6 separate regions of the Homo sapiens genome follow, and regions 1, 2, 3, 4 and 5 are each linked to region 6. Evidence: promoter capture Hi-C in human tissues and cell types (Jung and others, 2019). All regions are on one chromosome and are shown on one strand. Each heading gives the region's core, a stretch centred on a gene start or on the middle of the fragment in contact. The rest is flanking DNA. Distances are from core to core; before and after follow the strand shown.

The links. Contacts are between HindIII fragments. The study calls those that stand out against the background at their distance.
Region 1: a fragment that was not itself captured here is called in contact with the fragment with the promoter of PPIB in region 6 in 1 of the 25 tissues and cell types used here (mesenchymal stem cells).
Region 2: a fragment that was not itself captured here is called in contact with the fragment with the promoter of PPIB in region 6 in 1 of the 25 tissues and cell types used here (aorta).
Region 3: a fragment that was not itself captured here is called in contact with the fragment with the promoter of PPIB in region 6 in 1 of the 25 tissues and cell types used here (lymphoblastoid cells).
Region 4: a fragment that was not itself captured here is called in contact with the fragment with the promoter of PPIB in region 6 in 1 of the 25 tissues and cell types used here (stomach).
Region 5: a fragment that was not itself captured here is called in contact with the fragment with the promoter of PPIB in region 6 in 1 of the 25 tissues and cell types used here (lymphoblastoid cells).

Annotation. Positions count from the first base shown.
Region 1 is chr15:64,548,417-64,551,116 of GRCh38, forward strand. All of the region lies in intron 2 of ZNF609 (zinc finger protein 609), which reads left to right. All of the region lies in intron 4 of LOC101930091 (a long non-coding RNA gene), which reads right to left. Among named protein-coding and RNA genes, the nearest start is that of ZNF609, 89 kb to the left of the region's middle. The HindIII fragment of the contact is 3,265 bases long and covers 1-2,700 here.
Region 2 is chr15:64,615,629-64,618,328 of GRCh38, forward strand. The region is part of intron 2 of ZNF609 (zinc finger protein 609); the gene reads left to right. All of the region lies in intron 3 of LOC101930091 (a long non-coding RNA gene), which reads right to left. Among named protein-coding and RNA genes, the nearest start is that of OAZ2, 86 kb to the right of the region's middle. RefSeq lists an enhancer at 1,999-2,591. The HindIII fragment of the contact is 4,834 bases long and covers 1-2,700 here.
Region 3 is chr15:64,515,837-64,518,555 of GRCh38, forward strand. The region is part of intron 2 of ZNF609 (zinc finger protein 609); the gene reads left to right. Among named protein-coding and RNA genes, the nearest start is that of ZNF609, 57 kb to the left of the region's middle. The HindIII fragment of the contact is 5,470 bases long and covers 1-2,719 here.
Region 4 is chr15:64,578,856-64,581,820 of GRCh38, forward strand. The region is part of intron 2 of ZNF609 (zinc finger protein 609); the gene reads left to right. The region is part of intron 4 of LOC101930091 (a long non-coding RNA gene); the gene reads right to left. Among named protein-coding and RNA genes, the nearest start is that of ZNF609, 120 kb to the left of the region's middle. The HindIII fragment of the contact is 4,653 bases long and covers 1-2,965 here.
Region 5 is chr15:64,642,074-64,644,773 of GRCh38, forward strand. All of the region lies in intron 3 of ZNF609 (zinc finger protein 609), which reads left to right. Among named protein-coding and RNA genes, the nearest start is that of OAZ2, 60 kb to the right of the region's middle. The HindIII fragment of the contact is 6,546 bases long and covers 1-2,700 here.
Region 6 is chr15:64,161,580-64,164,489 of GRCh38, forward strand. PPIB (peptidylprolyl isomerase B) reads right to left here and starts at 1,443. Exons shown (of 5, transcript NM_000942.5): 1 at 1,273-1,443; 2 at 462-575. The coding sequence starts at 1,407. RefSeq lists enhancers at 2-566, 800-1,300, 1,108-1,357, 1,301-1,801, 1,908-1,957 and a silencer at 1,408-1,767. The HindIII fragment of the contact is 5,042 bases long and covers 344-2,910 here.

The DNA.
Region 1 (2,700 bases), core at 100-2,599, 390 kb after region 6:
TTCTTTACAAGTCGATGAATCAATAGACTCTAGTGAATGTGCTCAGTTAATAGAACTGCTTAGGCTGGGCTAGGTGGCTCATGTCTGTAATCCTAACACTTTGGGAGCCTCTGGTAGGCAGATTGCTGGAGCCTAGGAATTCAAGACCAGCCTGGACAACATGGCAAAACCCATCTCTACAAAAGACAAACAAAAACAAAAATTACTTGGGCATAGTAGTATGTGCCTATATTCCCAGCTACTTGGGAGGCTAAAGTAGGACTTGAGCTCAGGAGGTTGAGGCTGCAGTGAGCTGTGATCTTGTCACTGCACTTTAGCCTGGGCAACAGAACAAGATCCTGTCTTTAAAAAAAAGAAAGAAAGAATAATAAACTGCTTACAGCCCTTGAAGAGAAATTCTTAGAGAGTTATTTGTTCTGCATATATGTCAAAACAACCTACTTGAGATGAAATATTCAAAATTATAAATGAAATCTTTTAAAAAAGATGATACAGAAATCTTTCTTCTGTTCATGTAGTGGTAATGCTGGTGCAAAGATGGGTATATGGATATAAAGGCTTCATGTCAAGAGTTCACCTGAAAACCCTGAAATTTAGGCACATGAATTTTTTTTATTCCGTTTTGCATAGGAGAAATTCAGTTTTGCCTGTAGGTCTAAATTCCACATTAAATTTTATTTTCAAAATGGTGAATCTAATAATAATAAGTACTTAAAAATAAAATAGTACCCACTGTGTTTCAAGACTGTTTTTGTTTGTTTGTTTTGGTTTTGGTTTGGTTTGGTTTTTTTGAGACGGAGTTTAGCTCTTGTAGTCCAAGCTGGAGTGCAATGGCGCAATCTTGGCTTACCACAACCTCCGCCTCCCGGGTTCAAGCAATTCTCCTGCCTCAGCCTCCAGAGTAGCTGGGATTACAGGTGCACACCACCTCGCCCGGCTAATCTTTTTTTGTATTTTTAGTAGAAACAGGGTTTCACCATGTTTCAACAGCTAGGCTGATCCACCCACCAAGGCCTCCCAAAGTGCTGGGATTACAGGCATGAGCCACCGTGCCAAGACTGTTGTAAGAAGTGTATGTATATTTACTAATTTAATCCTCACAGTTAATGATGTAGGTACTATTAATATCATCCCCATCTACAGCTGAGGAAACTGAGACATAGAGCAGTTAGGTTATTTTCCCAAGGTTACATTGGCAGAGCCAAAATTCAAAGCCAGGTAATCTGGCTTCAGAGTCTGTACTCGTGTGTGTGTGTGTGAGTGAGAGAGAGAGGGAGACAGGGAGAAAGAAAGAAAACACAAATAACATAAAATTTACCATCTTAACCATTGATTTTTGGTCCATGTTTTTTATTTTTCATTTTTGGGCTTAATTTAATTTATTTTTGAGATGGGATCTCACTCTGTCATCCAGGTTGGAGAGCAGTGGTGCAATCACAGCTCATTGCAGCTTCAGTCTCCTGTACCCAAGTGATCCTCCTACATTAGTCGCCCAAGTAGTTGAAACTACAGGTATCTGTCACCACGCCAAACTAATTTTTTTCTTTTCTTCATGTTTTTTTAAGAGACAAGGGTCTTGCTATATTGCCCAGGCTGGAGTGCCATCACAGCTCACTGCAGCCTCTACTTCCCTCAATGGATCCTCTCACCTCAGCCTCCCAAGTAGCTAGGGCTACAGGCATGCACCACCACACCCAGCTAATTTTTTTCTGTTTTTTTGTAGAAATGGGGTCTCACAGTGTTGTCTAGGTTGGTCTTGAAATCCTTGGCTCAAGTGATCCACCCACCTCAGCCTCCCAAAGTGCTGGGATTACAGGCATGAGCTGCTGTGCCCAGCTGTGTATCTTCTTTGTAGAAATATCTATTCAAGTGTTTTGCCCAGGTTTGAATTGGGGTTTGTTGTTGTTATTGTTGTTGTTGTTGTTGTTGTTGTTAAATTGTGGGAGTTCTTTATATATTTTGGATATTAATCTCTTATTAGATGTATGATTTGCAGGCCAGGTATGGTGGCTCATGCCTCTAATCCCAGCACTCTGGGAAGCCAAGGCAGGAAGATTGCTTGATGCCAGGAGTTTAAAACCAGCCTGGGCAACATAGCAAGACCCTGTTTTTAAAAATAAATAATTAAAAAAAAAAAGAGGAATAGATGACCAGGCACAGTGACTCATGCCTGTAATCCCAGCACTTTGGGAGGCCAAGGTGGGCGGATCACCTGAGGTCACCAGCCTGACCAACATGACGAAACCCTGTCTCTACTAAAAATACAAAAATTAGCTGGGTGTGGTGGCACATGCCTGTAATCCCAGCTACTTGAGAGGCCGAGACAGGAGAATCGCTTGAACCCAGGCAGTGGAAATTGCAGTGAGCCGATGATCGTGCCACTGCACTCCAGCCTGGGTGACACAGTGAGACTCTGTCTCGGGAAAAAAAAAAAAAAAAAGAAACATGATTTGCAAATATTTTCTCCCATTCTGTAGGTTGTCTTCTTAGTCTTCTCATGCATAAGTTTTCAGTTTTGATGAAGTCCAGTTTATCTATTTTAACATTTGTTACCTGTACTTTTTGGTGTCTTAGTCAAGAAATCACTGCCAATCCAATGTCAGGAAGCTTTTCCTGTATGTTTTTCTCTAAGAGTTTTATAATTTTAGCTTCTACATTTAGGATGGTCCCTTTTTTTTGTTTGTTTTGAGGTGAAGTCTC
Region 2 (2,700 bases), core at 131-2,630, 450 kb after region 6:
GGCATGCACCACCATGCCTGGCTAATTTTTGTACTTATAGTAGAGACGGGGTTTTGCCGTGTTGGTCAGGCTGGTCTTGAACTCGTGACATCAGGTGATCCACCTGCCTCGGCCTCTTAAAGTGCTGGGATTATAGGCGTGAGCCACTGTGCCCAGCTAGTGACATCTTACTTTCTACACAATCTTATCTGATAATTCTGAATAAATCTGAACATTCATGTACCAACATCCCCAACTACCTTTTTATTTTTGGATAAAACAAAGTTTCTTAGAACTACTGCTGTTATCAGTAGAACTAACTTCCTTCTTGCGTTTTTGTCTGTGAAGGTGAAGATACAAGACTCATTGTGAAGGGGAAAAGGCAAGGTCTATCTCAAATATCTCTTCAATGAATTTCTTTTTTTTTCAGATAGGGTCTCTCATTTTGGTGCTCAGGCTGAAGCGCAGTGGTGCAGTCATAGCTGCTGCCTCATCCTCCTGCCTCAGTCTCCCAAGTAGCTGGGACTATAGGGATGTGCCACCATGCCCAGCTCATTTTTATTTTTTGTAAATATAGACTTTTGCCATGTTGCCCAGGCTGGTCTAGAACTCCTCAGCTCAAGCAATCCTCCCGCCTTGGCCTCCCAGAGTGCTGGGATTACAGGTATAAACCATCACATTTGGCCTTCAGTGTATTTTCTACCTGTAAAGTTATGTTGCAGCCATGAAGATTTTTGTCCATCAGTGCCTCTCATCTGTGAGAGGCAGTTGAAGTAGGTATATAGTTATAATTACTCTTTGTGGGGAGATGAATGACTCTGGCCTTTCTCTATTCTCTCAAGTCCCCATTTCTGTGTCATCTGCCTACCAACATTGAGATCCTTATATATGTTATTAAACTGATATCTTTTTTTTTTTTTTTTTTTTTTTGAGATGGAGTCTCACTCTGTCGCCCAGGCTGGAGTGCAGTGGCGTGATCTCGGCTCACTGCAAGCTCCACCTCCCAGGTTCACGCCATTCTCCTGCCTCAGCTTCCTGAGTAGCTGGGACTACAGGCGCCCGCCACCACACCCGGCTAATTTTTTGTATTTCTAGTAGAGACGGGGTTTCACCGTGTTAGCCAGGATGGTCTCGATCTCCTGACCTTGTGATCCACCCGCCTCAGCCTCCCAAAGTGCTGGGATTACAGGTGTGAGCCACCATGCTTTTTTTTTTTTTTTTTTTTTTTTTGCACTCTGTCGCCCAGGATGGAGTACAATTGTGCAATCTCAGCTCACTGCAACCTCCACCTCCCGGGTTCAGGTGATTCTCATGCCTCAGTCTCCCAAGTAGCTGGGATTACAGGTGCACACCACCATGCCCGGCTAATTTTTTATTTTTAGTAGAGATGGGGTTTCACCATGTTGGCCAGGCTGGTCTTGAACTCCTGGCCTCAGGTGATCCACCTGCCTCAGCCTCCCAAAGTGCTGGGATTACAGGCGTGAGCCACTGCGTCCGGCCTTAAACTGCTATGTAAAGGTAAATTGAGAAGTATCATTTTAGGATGGGCAACGTAGGGAGACTTTGTCTCTACAAAGTTTTTGTTTTTGTTTTTTTTGGAGACAAAATTTCACTGTATTGCCCAGGCTAGTCTCAAACTCCTGGACTCAAACAGTCCTCCCATTTCAGCCTCCCAAAGTGCTAGGATCACAGGCATCAGCCACCATTCCCGGCCAAAAAATTAAAAAAAAAAAAAAATTAGCCTAGCATGGTGGTGCACGTGTAGTCCCAGCTACTTGGGAGGCTGAGGTGGGAGGATTGCTTGAGCCAGAGAGGTTGAGGCTGCAGTGAACCATGATCACCCCCTGCACTCCAGCCTGGACGACAGAGCGAGACCCTGTCTCAAAGAAAAGAGAATTATCGCCAGGCATGTCTGTAATCCCAGCACTTTGGGATGCTGTGGCGGTTGGATCACCTGAGGTCAGGAGTTCGAGACCAGCCTGGCCAACATGACAAAACCCAGTCTCTACTAAAAATAGAAAAATTAGCCAGGCATGGTGGTGGGAGCCTGTAATCCCAGCTACTTGGGAGGCTGAGGTAGGAGAATCGCCTGAATCTGGAAGGCAGAGGTTGTAGTGAGCTGAGATCACGCCATTGCACTCCAGCCTGGGCAACAAGAGTGAAACTCCATCTCAAAAAACAAACAAACAAACAAAAAGTATTAAAAGATAAAGGACATAAAGTGTTGGGAAACTCCAGAGATCTCCTCTTTAAATTCTCTATAAGTCTCTTTTCAAGCTTTTGTTTTGTTGTTTACCTCCCTAGTAAGCTAAGCCCTAGGAGCCATGATGGCACTTCTTAGCATTTCAAAGACTGAGAATTAGCTTAACTTTTGTTGGTGTAGTTATTAAGGCATCTAATGACCTTAACTTTTTAATATTCCTATACCTTATTTTCCCTCTTGGCCCCAATTTCCTGACAATCCCTGCTCTTATATTTTAGGTATATGAAAAGATGGCAAAATGAGTCCTTTTCTGATTTTTTTTTCTCCTTTTTTGAGACAGGGTCTTGCTCTGTTGCACAGGCTAGAGTACAGTGGCACGATCACAGCTCACTGCAGCCTTCACCCCCGGGACAAAACTTTCCTCCTGAAATGGGAAAAGTTCCCTTGTCCCCCTCACAGGGCGTGCAATGGGAGTGTGGCTCACTTCTTCACTGCCCTGCTGCTCAGACCTGTAGGGT
Region 3 (2,719 bases), core at 188-2,687, 350 kb after region 6:
CCGAGGCAGGATAATTGCTCGAACCTGGGAGGCGGGGGTTGCAGTGAGCTGAGATCGCGCCATTGCACTCCAGCTTGGGCAGCAAAGGCGAAACTCCGTCTCAAAAAAAAAAAAAAAAAGAACTAAGCAGGTAAATGTCCTCATGTCACAGAAGAAAAGATCGACTTGTTTAGAAACCAAGTTAGGTAGGGCTGTCTGTAGTTGGTAGTAAATTATCAACCTGAAGTGGCATTCAGGCCAGAGAAAAGTCAGGGAAGATAGTTGGAAAATAAAACCCCAATGACTTTTTCATATTTGACTAAAATTTTCAGATCTCTTATTGTTCTTATTCCTTAGTCATATTTCACCCTCCTTCCTGTTTTATATCTAATAACCTGAAGCAGAAAAGGGCCAGGCCAATCCTACTTTAATCTCTTCCATTCCCCTGCCCCCCTGGAGTATATTTTTTAATTTTTAAAATTTATTTGTATTTGTTTTTCGTTTATTCAGTCTTGCTGAGTTAAGCAGAAACCTCATAGAGGTGGGGTTTTTTTGTTTGTTTTTGCTTTGTTTTGAGACAGAGTCTTGCTCTGTTGCCCAGGCTGGAGTGCAATGGCACGATCTCGTCTCACTGCAAGCTCTCCGCCTCCTGAGTTCAAGAGATTCTCCTGCCACAGCCTCCCAAGTAGTTGGGATGACAGGCATGCGCCACCACCCACACCCGGCTAATTTTTGTATTTTTGGTAGAGATGGGGTTTCACCATGTCGCCCAGGCTGGTCTCAAACTCTTAAGCTCAAATGATCCTCCTGCCTCAATCCTCCAAAGTGTTGGATTACAGGTGTGAGCCACCATGCCCACCCAAATAATACTTTTAAAGAAAACTTAGATTTTATTGTGGTGCCACTATATACTGGGCATTTATTAAGAATATATATATATTTTTAATCTTGTATTGATCTTATCTTAGGGATGGTTCCTTATAATTGCATTTATCCTTCTTATGTGTTTCTGTATCTTTCAGAACCATTTCCAGAATTAATCAGGCTACCGAACAATAAGTCCAGTCTTAGCTTATCAACTCTCAGGATGATTCTGATTTTAAAAATTTTCACCAGGTTCCAGCAGTCCCTTATACTATATCAATTTCTTCTCTCCTTAACCCCTACTCCGGAAACTTTTTACTTGATAATGTTTGTCTGGCTCTTCCTTATTTAATTGCGAGTTTTAAGCTTCTTGCTTTAAAAATATAGCATTAGCTGATTTTAAAATTACCTCTGGGCTGGGTACGCTGGCTCACTCCTATAAACCCAGCACTTTGGGAGGCCAAAGCACGTGGATCACCTGAGGTCAGGAGTTCAAGACCAGCCTGGTCAACATGGTGAAACTCCATGTCTACTAAAAAATACAAAAATTAGCTGGGTGTAGTGGTGCATGCCTGTAGTCCAAGCTTCTCAGGAAGCTGAGGCAGGAGAATCACTTGAACCCGGGAAGTGGAGGCTGCAGTGAGCCGAGATCATGCCACTGCATTCCAGCCTAGGTGACAGAGGGGGATTCTGTCTCAAACAAAACAAAACAAAATTCCCTGTGATTCAACAGATCCTATATGGGATGCTTTATAACAAAATTAATGTTTTTCTGGACTTACAGGTTGGAGGGCTATCCTAGTCAAGCAGTTCAAATTTATGGATACTCATTCAGTTCATCCAACAAATAATTATTAAATAACTACCATGTGCTATACAGTGTGCTGGCACTTAGGATAAAGAGTTGAAGCCAGGCATGGTGGCTCACACCTGTAGTCCCAGCTACTTGGAAGGCTGAGGTGGGAAGTTCCTGTGAGCCCAGGAGTTCAAGTCCAGCTGGGACAACATAGCAAGATCCCATCTAAAAAAATAAAAGTTAAATGGATGTGGTCTCTGCTCTGTGGAGTGTGTGTATATATATGATATATAAATAAAAATTATACATATATATTATTATTATTATTTTTAGACACTCTGTCACCCAGGCTGGAGTACAGTGGCACAATCTTGGCCCACTATAACCTCTGCCTCCTGGGCTCAAGTGATCCTCCCAACTCAGCCTCCCAAGTATCTAGGACTACAGGTGCGTGCCACCACACCTGACCAATTTTGGATTTTTTGTCGAGACAGGGTTTCACCATGTTGCCCAGGCTCACCACGTTGAACCCCTGGGCTCAAGTGATCCACCCGCCATGGCCTCCCAAAGTGCTGGGATTACAAGCGTGAGCCATCGTGCTGGGTTCCTGGAGTTTATATTCTAATGTGGGAGACAGATAAATTGGTTATTATAACAAACTTTGATGAGTAATGATAACATAGGGTATTGTGGGTGCACAGTGGTGGCCAGAGTATAGTGTAGGATCAAGGAAGATCTCTGCTCAAAAGAGGTGATGGAGATCTCTAACCTCTCTGATAGTTAAACAGAGACCCAAAGGGATAAGCAGGAATTAGACAGGTGATGGGAGAGAGGGCAAAAGGCTTGTGCCAGGTGAGAGAATAGCATAATCAAAGGCTAAGTGGTAAGACTAATCTTGAGGCATGAGAAGAACTGGAAGAAGTTCACTATGACTGGAGGAGGAGGAATAGAATGGTAAGATGAGGCTGGAGTGCTATGGGGTCAGATAGTAGAAGGCCTTAAAAGCCTTGTTAAAGGATTTGGATTTCATCCTAACATCTGCAGAAAACTATTGTTAGACTTTTTAGTGGATTACAGTGA
Region 4 (2,965 bases), core at 346-2,845, 420 kb after region 6:
TGGGTATGGTGGCATGTGCGTGTAGTCCTGGCTACTCTAGAGGCTGATTGGTGGGTGGATTGCTTGAGCCCAAGAGGTTGAGGCTGCAGTGAGCTTTGATAGGGCCACTATATTCCAGCCTGGGTGACAGAGAGAGAACTTGTCTCAGAAAAAACAACAAAATTGTGCAGGATCTGGATTTTTTAAAAATTAAAAAAATTTTCATTAAAAATTATAAAACAAAAAAGATTTGCATCTACATTTTGCTATTTTTTTATGTCTTTTTTGTTCCTCTTTCCCTCCATCACAGCCCTCTTTTGTGTTAAATAGATATGTTCTATTGTGTATAGTGTAGGGAGACCCATCTCTACAAAAAATTTAAGAATTAGCTAGAACAGAGAAAACAAAAAGAAGTGATGGTACATGCAAAGAAGTGATGGTACATGCATGCCTATAGTCTCAGCTACTTGGGAGGCTGAGGTGGGAGGATGAGTTGAGCCCAGGAGGTCAAGCTGCAGTCAGTTGTGATTGTTCCATTGCTCTACAGTCTGGGTGATAGAGCAAGACCCTGTCTCAAAAAAAAAAAAAAAAAAAGTAGCCAGACCTACTGGCTCACACCTGAAATCCCAGGTGCGGGAGGCCTAGGCAGGTGGATCATTTGAAGTCAGGGGTTCGATACTAGCCTGGCCAACATGGTGAAACCCTGTCTCTACTAAAAGTACAAAAAAAATTAGGTGTGGTGGTAGGTGCCTGTAGTCCCAGCTACTTGGGAGGGTGAGGCAGGAGAATCACTTAAGCCCAGGAGGCAGAGGTCGCAGTGAGCTGTGATCTTGCTACTGCACTCCAGCCTGGGCGACACAGGAAAACAAACAAACAAAAAAAAAAAACTTGTGTTTTTGTATAGCTCTGTTCCCTTCTTTGTCCTTTGTGCTATTATTGTCATACAAATGACGTATACCCATCAACACATATTATAAATATTGCTTTATGCAGTTGTCTTTTAAGTCAGATATGAGAAAAAAGTTATAAATAAAAAATACATTTATACAGTCTTTTGTATTTACCTACTATGGCAGGTAGGCAGAATACTGCCTCCTCCAAAAAAAATCTATTTCTTATTCCCTGGAACCTGTGAATATGTTACCTTACCTGGCAAAAGAGATTTTATAGATGTGATTAAATTAAGGATTTTGAGGTGGGGGGATTAGCTTAGATTATCCAATGGTTCCAATGTAATCACAAGGGTTCTTGTAAGGGAAGAAGAGGGCAAGAGAGTCAGAGTCAGAGAGAGATTTAAAAATGGTATACTACTTAGTTTGAAGATGGAGGGAGGGGATGAGCCAAGGAATTTAGACAGCCTCCTAAAGCCTAGAAAAAGCAAGAAAAATGGATTATCTCCTAGAGCCTCCACAATGAAATGCAGCCCTGCTGACATCTTAATTTTAGTTCAGAGAGAACCATTTTAGACTTTTGAACTCCAGAACTGTATGATAATAAATTTGCATTGTTTTAAGCCACTGAGTTTATGGTAATAGTTTCTTATTGCTGCTGTCATTTAATACAGCTATGGGGGAGTTAGCTTTACTAACATTCTTTCTTTGTGTGGATTCAAGTTATTGCCTAGTGCCCTGTCATTTCACTTAAAGATTCCCTTTAGTATTTCTTGTAGGGCAGGTCTACTAGCAATGAACTCTCTCAGTTCTTTTCTTTTCTTTTCTTTTCTTTTTTTTTTTTGAGACAGAGTCTCGTTCTGTCGCCTAGGCTGGAGTGTAGTGGTGCAGTCTGCAACCTCTGCCTCCTGGGTTGAAGTGATTCTCCTGCCTCAGCCTCCCGAGTAACTGGGACTACAGGCATACGCCACCATGCCTAGCTAATTTTTGTAGAGATGGGGTTCCACCTTGTTGGCCAGGCTGGTCTCGAACTCCTGACCTGAAGTGATCCTCCCACCGTGGCCTCCCAAAGTGCTAGGATGACAGGCATGAGCCACCACGCCCAGCCTCTCAGTTCTTTTTTATCTGGGAATATCTTAATTTTTCCTTGTTTTTTAATGGATAGTTTTGCTGGATATAGAATTAAATACTCAGCAGTTGACAACTCTGTTTTCTAGTCTTCAATGTCTTCTTTTTTTTTTTTTTTTTTTTTTTTTTTTGAGACAGTCTCGCTCTGTTGCCCAGACAATTTTATTTTTAAATTTTTTTAGAGACGGGGGTCTCACCATATTGCCCAGGCTGGTTCAGTGGCTATTCACAGTTACACTCATAGCACACTGTGACCTTGAACTCCTGGCCTCAAGCTGTCTTCCTGCTTCCTCCTCCTGAGTAGCTGGGACTATATGCATGTCACCATCCTGGCCTAGCCTTCACTTTCTGCTTGTGCAGAGCTTCAAGGTCAACCGGAGGTGAGAGTTTAGGGCCTTCTCAGTACTTTACTGAGCGTGGCCTCAGCCCTGGGCATGTATACGTCCTTGTGCATACATGTGGCTTGCTTTTTTTAAAGATTTTCTTCTACTCTCAGACAATCTAGAAAACATACGGCTTTCTAGATTTCCAGGAAAGCCCTGTGAACATGTCCTTCCCCAGCTTTTCCTTTTAAGTTTTTTTGGTCAGGCAGCCACAAAGTTAAGCACTTCCCTATATTTTTCACAAATACTCCTACCTCCCAGGGAAAAGGCTTTTTATGCTGGGTAAGCTCTGAGTCTGGTCAGATATAGATAACCTTGCAAGTGGGGCCTTCCAGGGAACCACCGGAAAGGTCAAATAATGATAATTCCCTGGGAATGAAGCTTCACAGGCACGCCAACCCTGTTCTGCCCCATCTAGTGATTGTCAAGCTGCTGCTTTTTCACTGTGATTGCAGGCTTTTGATTTTTCAGAGCAGGAGATGGGAGTAGGGCAAGTTAAGGTGCTAACAAAGCTCAATGTTTCTTACTGATATTCAGGCGTTTTGCTTGAATAAATGCTCTTAGATTGTTGTAAGCCTTTGGTGT
Region 5 (2,700 bases), core at 57-2,556, 480 kb after region 6:
TACATGAAATTTGGTAGGGCATGAGTATTTATAGCATGGCAAAAGCATTCTCTCTAATAATTTGCATTGCAGCAACAAATTTGGAGCTAAAATACAGGTTTTTGGTTTGTTTTTGTTTTTATTTTTTTGAAACAGAGTCTCGTTCTGTCACCCAGGTTGGAGTGCAGTGGTGCAATCATGGCTCACTGCGGCCTCCAACTCCTGGGCTCAAGCAACCCTCTCACCTCAACTTCTCAAGTAGCTGGAACCACAGGCGTGTACCACCATGTCTGGCTAACTTTTTTTTTCTTTTGTAGAGACTAGGTCTCGCTGTGTTGACCAGACTGGTTTCAAGCTCCTGTCCTCAAGTGATCCTCCTGCCTTGGTCTCCCAAAGTGCTGAGATTACAGGTGTGAGCCACCACGCCCAGCCAGTATGACAGTTTAAAAAAAAAAGTTTGACCAGACACAGTGACTCACACTTGTCATCCTAGCAATTTGGGAGGCCAAGGTGGGAGGATTACTTGAGCCCAGGAGTTCGAGACCAGCCTCTGCAACACTATGAGACCTCTTCTCTACCAAAAATCAAAAAAATTAGCCAGGCAAGTGGCACACTCCCGTAGTCCCAGCTACTTAGGAGGCTGAAGCAGGAGGATCTCTCGAATCTGGGAGATCGAGGCTGCAGTGAGCCCTGACTGTGCCACTGCACTCTAGCCTGGGTGACAGAGCAAGACCCTGTCTCAAAAAATAATTATTATTATAATGGTTTTCATTTTCTGTAAATCTAAAATTTTTTTAAATGGTTTTCAGATAACAACTATGCACCAATTTAAGAAGAAAATCTTAGCTAGTACGTAACCACACATGGTCTAATTCTTTCTAGTTTCTTCATTTCTGGAGGCAACTCACTCTTGGAAGTTTCTGAATATATTTACCCTTTCTCTACATCTCTGGTTTGAACTTTCATCCTGGAGGAAATAGCGCTCATAAATGCACATACTCTCTAATCACATGTCAAAGTTAATTATTAGACAGTAACATACCAGAGATCAGCTGTGGGAAGGAAACAATTTCTACATTCTCCCATCTGAGGCTTCTGCAGAGGTAGTAGCATGTAGAGTTCCATACCAGCCTTCCTCACAGGCATCCTCTTGCAACTCTCCCTCAGCTCTCAGTCCTACCAATTTCCTGCAACATTCCTTGCTGCAGGCGTGAGCCACCACACCTGGCCAGAAACTATAATTTATTTACTTTCATACGATCTGTTTCTCCACCTCAACCTCTAAAGAGAACTAGAAAACTGGAGTGGGAAAACTTTAGAAAACTACTAGTACTGACTGGGAGTTGAGGTATTGGTTGTAGCTGCATCTTCCTCCTTGCCCTTACTCCGAACATCAGTAAACAAATATGTCTGTCATTCTCCTTTAGAAATAAAAATAGGAACTACATAGACACCATTAACAGGTTTTTGATCATTTAGTGGTGGTTAAAAGGACCTTTGGCCATTATAAGAGGTCTAGAGAGAGTAAAGAGGACTTTACTAGGAAAGCAAAGAGAAGACCATAACTGAAGGCATATTCAACTTCTAGAGAATAGGACCAAATTGAACAACAATTTGGCACCAGTGTAAAGTGTGTCAGCAACAATTATTAATATTTATTGTTAACTATTCATACTAGCACTGGACATTAGGCTTAACACTTACTATTTTTCTGACCAAGCTAAGGAAATACAACTTTCAAGGGAACAAGGTAACAAAGTAGGCCAGGTGTGGTGGCTCATGCCTGTAATCCCTGCACTTTGGGAGGCTGAGGCAAGAGGATCACTTGAACCCAGGAGTTTTAGACCAACCTGGGCAACATAGCAAGACCCCTTCTCTATCAAAAAAAAAATTTTTTTTTAATTAGCTGGACATGGTAGTATGTACCTGTAATCCCAGCTACTCAGGAAACTGAGGTGGGAGGATCACTTGAGCCCAGGAGGTCATGGCTACAGTGAGCCATGATCTTGCCGGTATACTCTAACCTGGGCAACAGAGCAAGACCCTGTCTCAAAATATATGTGGGAACAAGCTTTTTATTTGTATTATTTATTTATTTTAAACAACAACATCTTGTCCAAGACAAATTTTTTTTAAAAAGAGGAAAAGAATAAAGAAAAAGAAGGCCAAGGCCAATGGCTCACACCTATAATCCCAGTACTTTGGGAAGACTGCTTTAAGCCAAATTCAAGACCAGCCTGGTCAACATATAGCAAGACCTCATCTCTACAAAAAAAAATTTAAAAATTAGCTGGGCATGATGGTGTGTGCCTCTAGTCCTTGCTACTCAGGAAGCTGAGGAGGGAGGATCACTTGAGCCAAGGAGTGTGAGGTTACAGTGAGCTATGATCACATCACTGCACTCCAGTCTAGGCGACAAGAGTGAGACCCTGTGTCAATAAAAAACAAAAAGAAAAATAATAAAAAGAATCAGAGGTCTTTAAAATATAACAGATGATGGATCCAGTGTTACATACCTAAGTATACCTTTACCAGAGCTTCTGCCTTGATATGTGAGTCTGAGGGTTCAACTGTAAATTGCAGAAAACTTATAAAATGGTTTGGTGCCCAAGGACTGTTGCTAAGTCTTGCATGTAAGTCCAAAGTGGATACTATCCAAGTGACCTGCAATGCCATCCATAGATGGTGGGCAAAATTGATGGATGAGCTCTTGATCCAATG
Region 6 (2,910 bases), core at 193-2,692:
CCAAGCGTGGTGGCGCATGCCTGTAATCCCAGCTACTCAGGAGGCTGAGGCAGGAGAATCACTTAAACCCGGGAGGCGGAGGTTGCAGTGAGCTGAGGCCGCACCACTGCACTCCAGCCCAGGCGACAAGAGTGAAACTCCGTCTCAAAAAAAAAAAAAAATTTGCGGGGGTAGAGACAGGGTCTTGCTATGTTGCTCAGGTTGGCCTTGAACTCCTGGGCTCAAGCAATCCTCCTACTTTGGCCTCCAAAAGTGCTGGGATTTTAAGTGTGAGCCACTGTGCCTGGTCAGGGCCCCATTACTCTTAAGAAAGGGCAATACTGTGTTCCCAGGGCAACAGGCAGTCGGTGCTCAGTGAGGTCCACGCTACAGATCGGCTGAACTCTGCAGGTCAGTTTGCTGCCATCCCCAGTGCCAATTTCACTTCATGTGAGTTGACTACCCCTGCTCCAGCCACTTACCTCTCCTGTAGCTAAGGCCACAAAATTATCCACTGTTTTTGGAACAGTCTTTCCGAAGAGACCAAAGATCACCCGGCCTACATCTTCATCTCCAATTCGTAGGTCAAAATACACCTGAGGAAAGAGACCATTTCCAACTTAGCTTCTTTAAAGGGGCGTTGCTAGGGGAGGGAAGGTACAAGAAGCTAACCTGAGGATGGGAGAGAGAATAGAGCCATATTTTTAGAGAAGTGGTTCTGAATCTGATTTTGGTGACGGTAAAAATCCTATGAGAATCTAATGAAAGCTCCAGACCCTTTTCTTGGAAAACATGCTTATCTATACCCTCCTTGGACTACAGGATAACAATATTTGCTCTAAACAGCTAATGGACCCAGATTCTAAAAATTAACATTAGAAAACCCATAAGGAGCGGAGCCTAAGTTCACCACTTAAGTTTGAAGTATACATACTGTGCTTTGTAATTGGAAGTGGCTAAAATTTGGCTTAAGGAGAGAAAGGATTCGGAATCCGGCAGGCGTGATCTTTCACCATCTCCCCAGCACTGAGGGGTGTTTGCAAAAAGCCTGCTCTGAGACTGCCAGTGTCGGCCCCAGATGGGTATCCGGGGATCCAACTAACTCCCTGGGTCAGGGCAGGGGCTGGGGGTGTCGGGGTGGGTCCGGGTCGTTCCCTGGACTGAATGGGCAGGACGGCCCAGACGCCACGAGGCCACAGACAGAAGCCGAGGGAGGAGGGGCTGAGCCAAGGCCAAGCCAAGGCCGCCCGGGCCCGAGCTCCGGCACCGTAAATGCCGCGGACTCCACCGGACCTTGACGGTGACTTTGGGCCCCTTCTTCTTCTCATCGGCCGCAGAAGGTCCCGGCAGCAGCAGGAAGAAGACGGACCCCGCGATGAGGGCGGCGGCAAGGAGCACCTTCATGTTGCGTTCGGAGAGGCGCAGCATCCACAGGCGGAGGCGAAAGCAGCCCGGACAGCTGAGGCCGGAAGAGGGTGGGGCCGCGGTGGCTAGGGAGCCGGCGCCGCCACGCGCGGGTGGGGGGGACTGGGGTTGCTCGCGGGCTCCGGGCGGGCGGCGGGCGCCGTTTCCCCCCTCCGGCTCGGCGCCGGATAGTAGGTCCCCCTGCGGGGCGGGCACCGACGCGGGCTCGTGGGTGGTTGCCACGTTATTGCTCCCTCATTGGGCTCCCGGCCGCCCTCTCCCGCCCACAGGAAGGCCACCGGCGGAAGGCGGCCTCGCAGAGCACGGGCCCGGGCTCCGAGAAGACCACAAGCCCCGGCATGCTCCGCGGCCCGCCCCGCCCGGAGCGCTGTTCCACTGGCCTGCGGTAGCTGGCGCTTGAGGTTAGCAAATACGTGGGCCTGGACAAGGGGCACGGGAAGCTTGTCACTGTTTTGGGCCAGTCAAGTGTTTGTCACCGCCAAATTGGCTCTAAACGTTGTGGCTTCCAAACACTTCAGGGACATTTATCCTTACCGAGCGTGGCCTTGTACGGCTCCTCCACTTGTCTTGCAAAACTTGCTGCACAACCCACTTCCTTTTTTACTGAGGCCGTCAAGTTACTACCCATTTTTCTCTCCCTTCTGTAATCTTGCTGTGCTTACTGTTGTGTATATCAATGGACATCTTATTGTATACGCTGTTCTTAACTTCCTTTACCTTTTCCCCCAATAGACTACATTTTTTTTTTTTTCTGCGGAAGGGACTGTGTTGCATTTACTCTGTCCACAGCTCCCTCACAGCGCGGCAGTACTGAGTGCCCAACAAGTCCTGGTTGGGATAGCTTCACATCCGCACTGACATGAGAAATAATTTATGCCACGGCCTGAGGATACAATGCCTTTTTCCGGAGGTCAGGAATAGTTACTAGATGTCCCCACAGGGCTATTTTAGGTCTTCACACACTTAGTGTTGTCCCAATCTACAACATAGATACTTTGGTACTGGGAGTCTTACACACCAAAACAAACCAAAACACAAACTTCCAAAATTTGGACCTATGGCGTTAAAACGTCTTTAAAACTAATTTTCAACGATTAACTTCGTAGAAATTCCAGGTCGTCACAGCACAGATTATAGGCAGGGCTCCATTTACATAAATTATGCAATGTAGTCTTCATGAGGCGCTGACCTGAGACTGAAGTTATGCAAGGCCACTGGCATTAACTTTGTTGTTCATTACAGCGGCCTTACACAGGTTGTAGAGCTTCAAGACAGTTCTCTTATTTCCCATCCTTGCACCTCAATTCAGACAACCCCAATCAGGAGGAAGTTTTAAACATTGTTATACTGACAAAGATGATCTTCCAGATCCATCTCTCATCCCTTTTTTTTTTTTTTCTCCTATTTTGTTAAGCCTCTTTCTTCACTCACTGGTCTCAGGCTGCCATAGCCAGAGAAAAATGTTTACTAAATCATGTTTTCAAAGTAGCCTCCAGCTGGGCACAG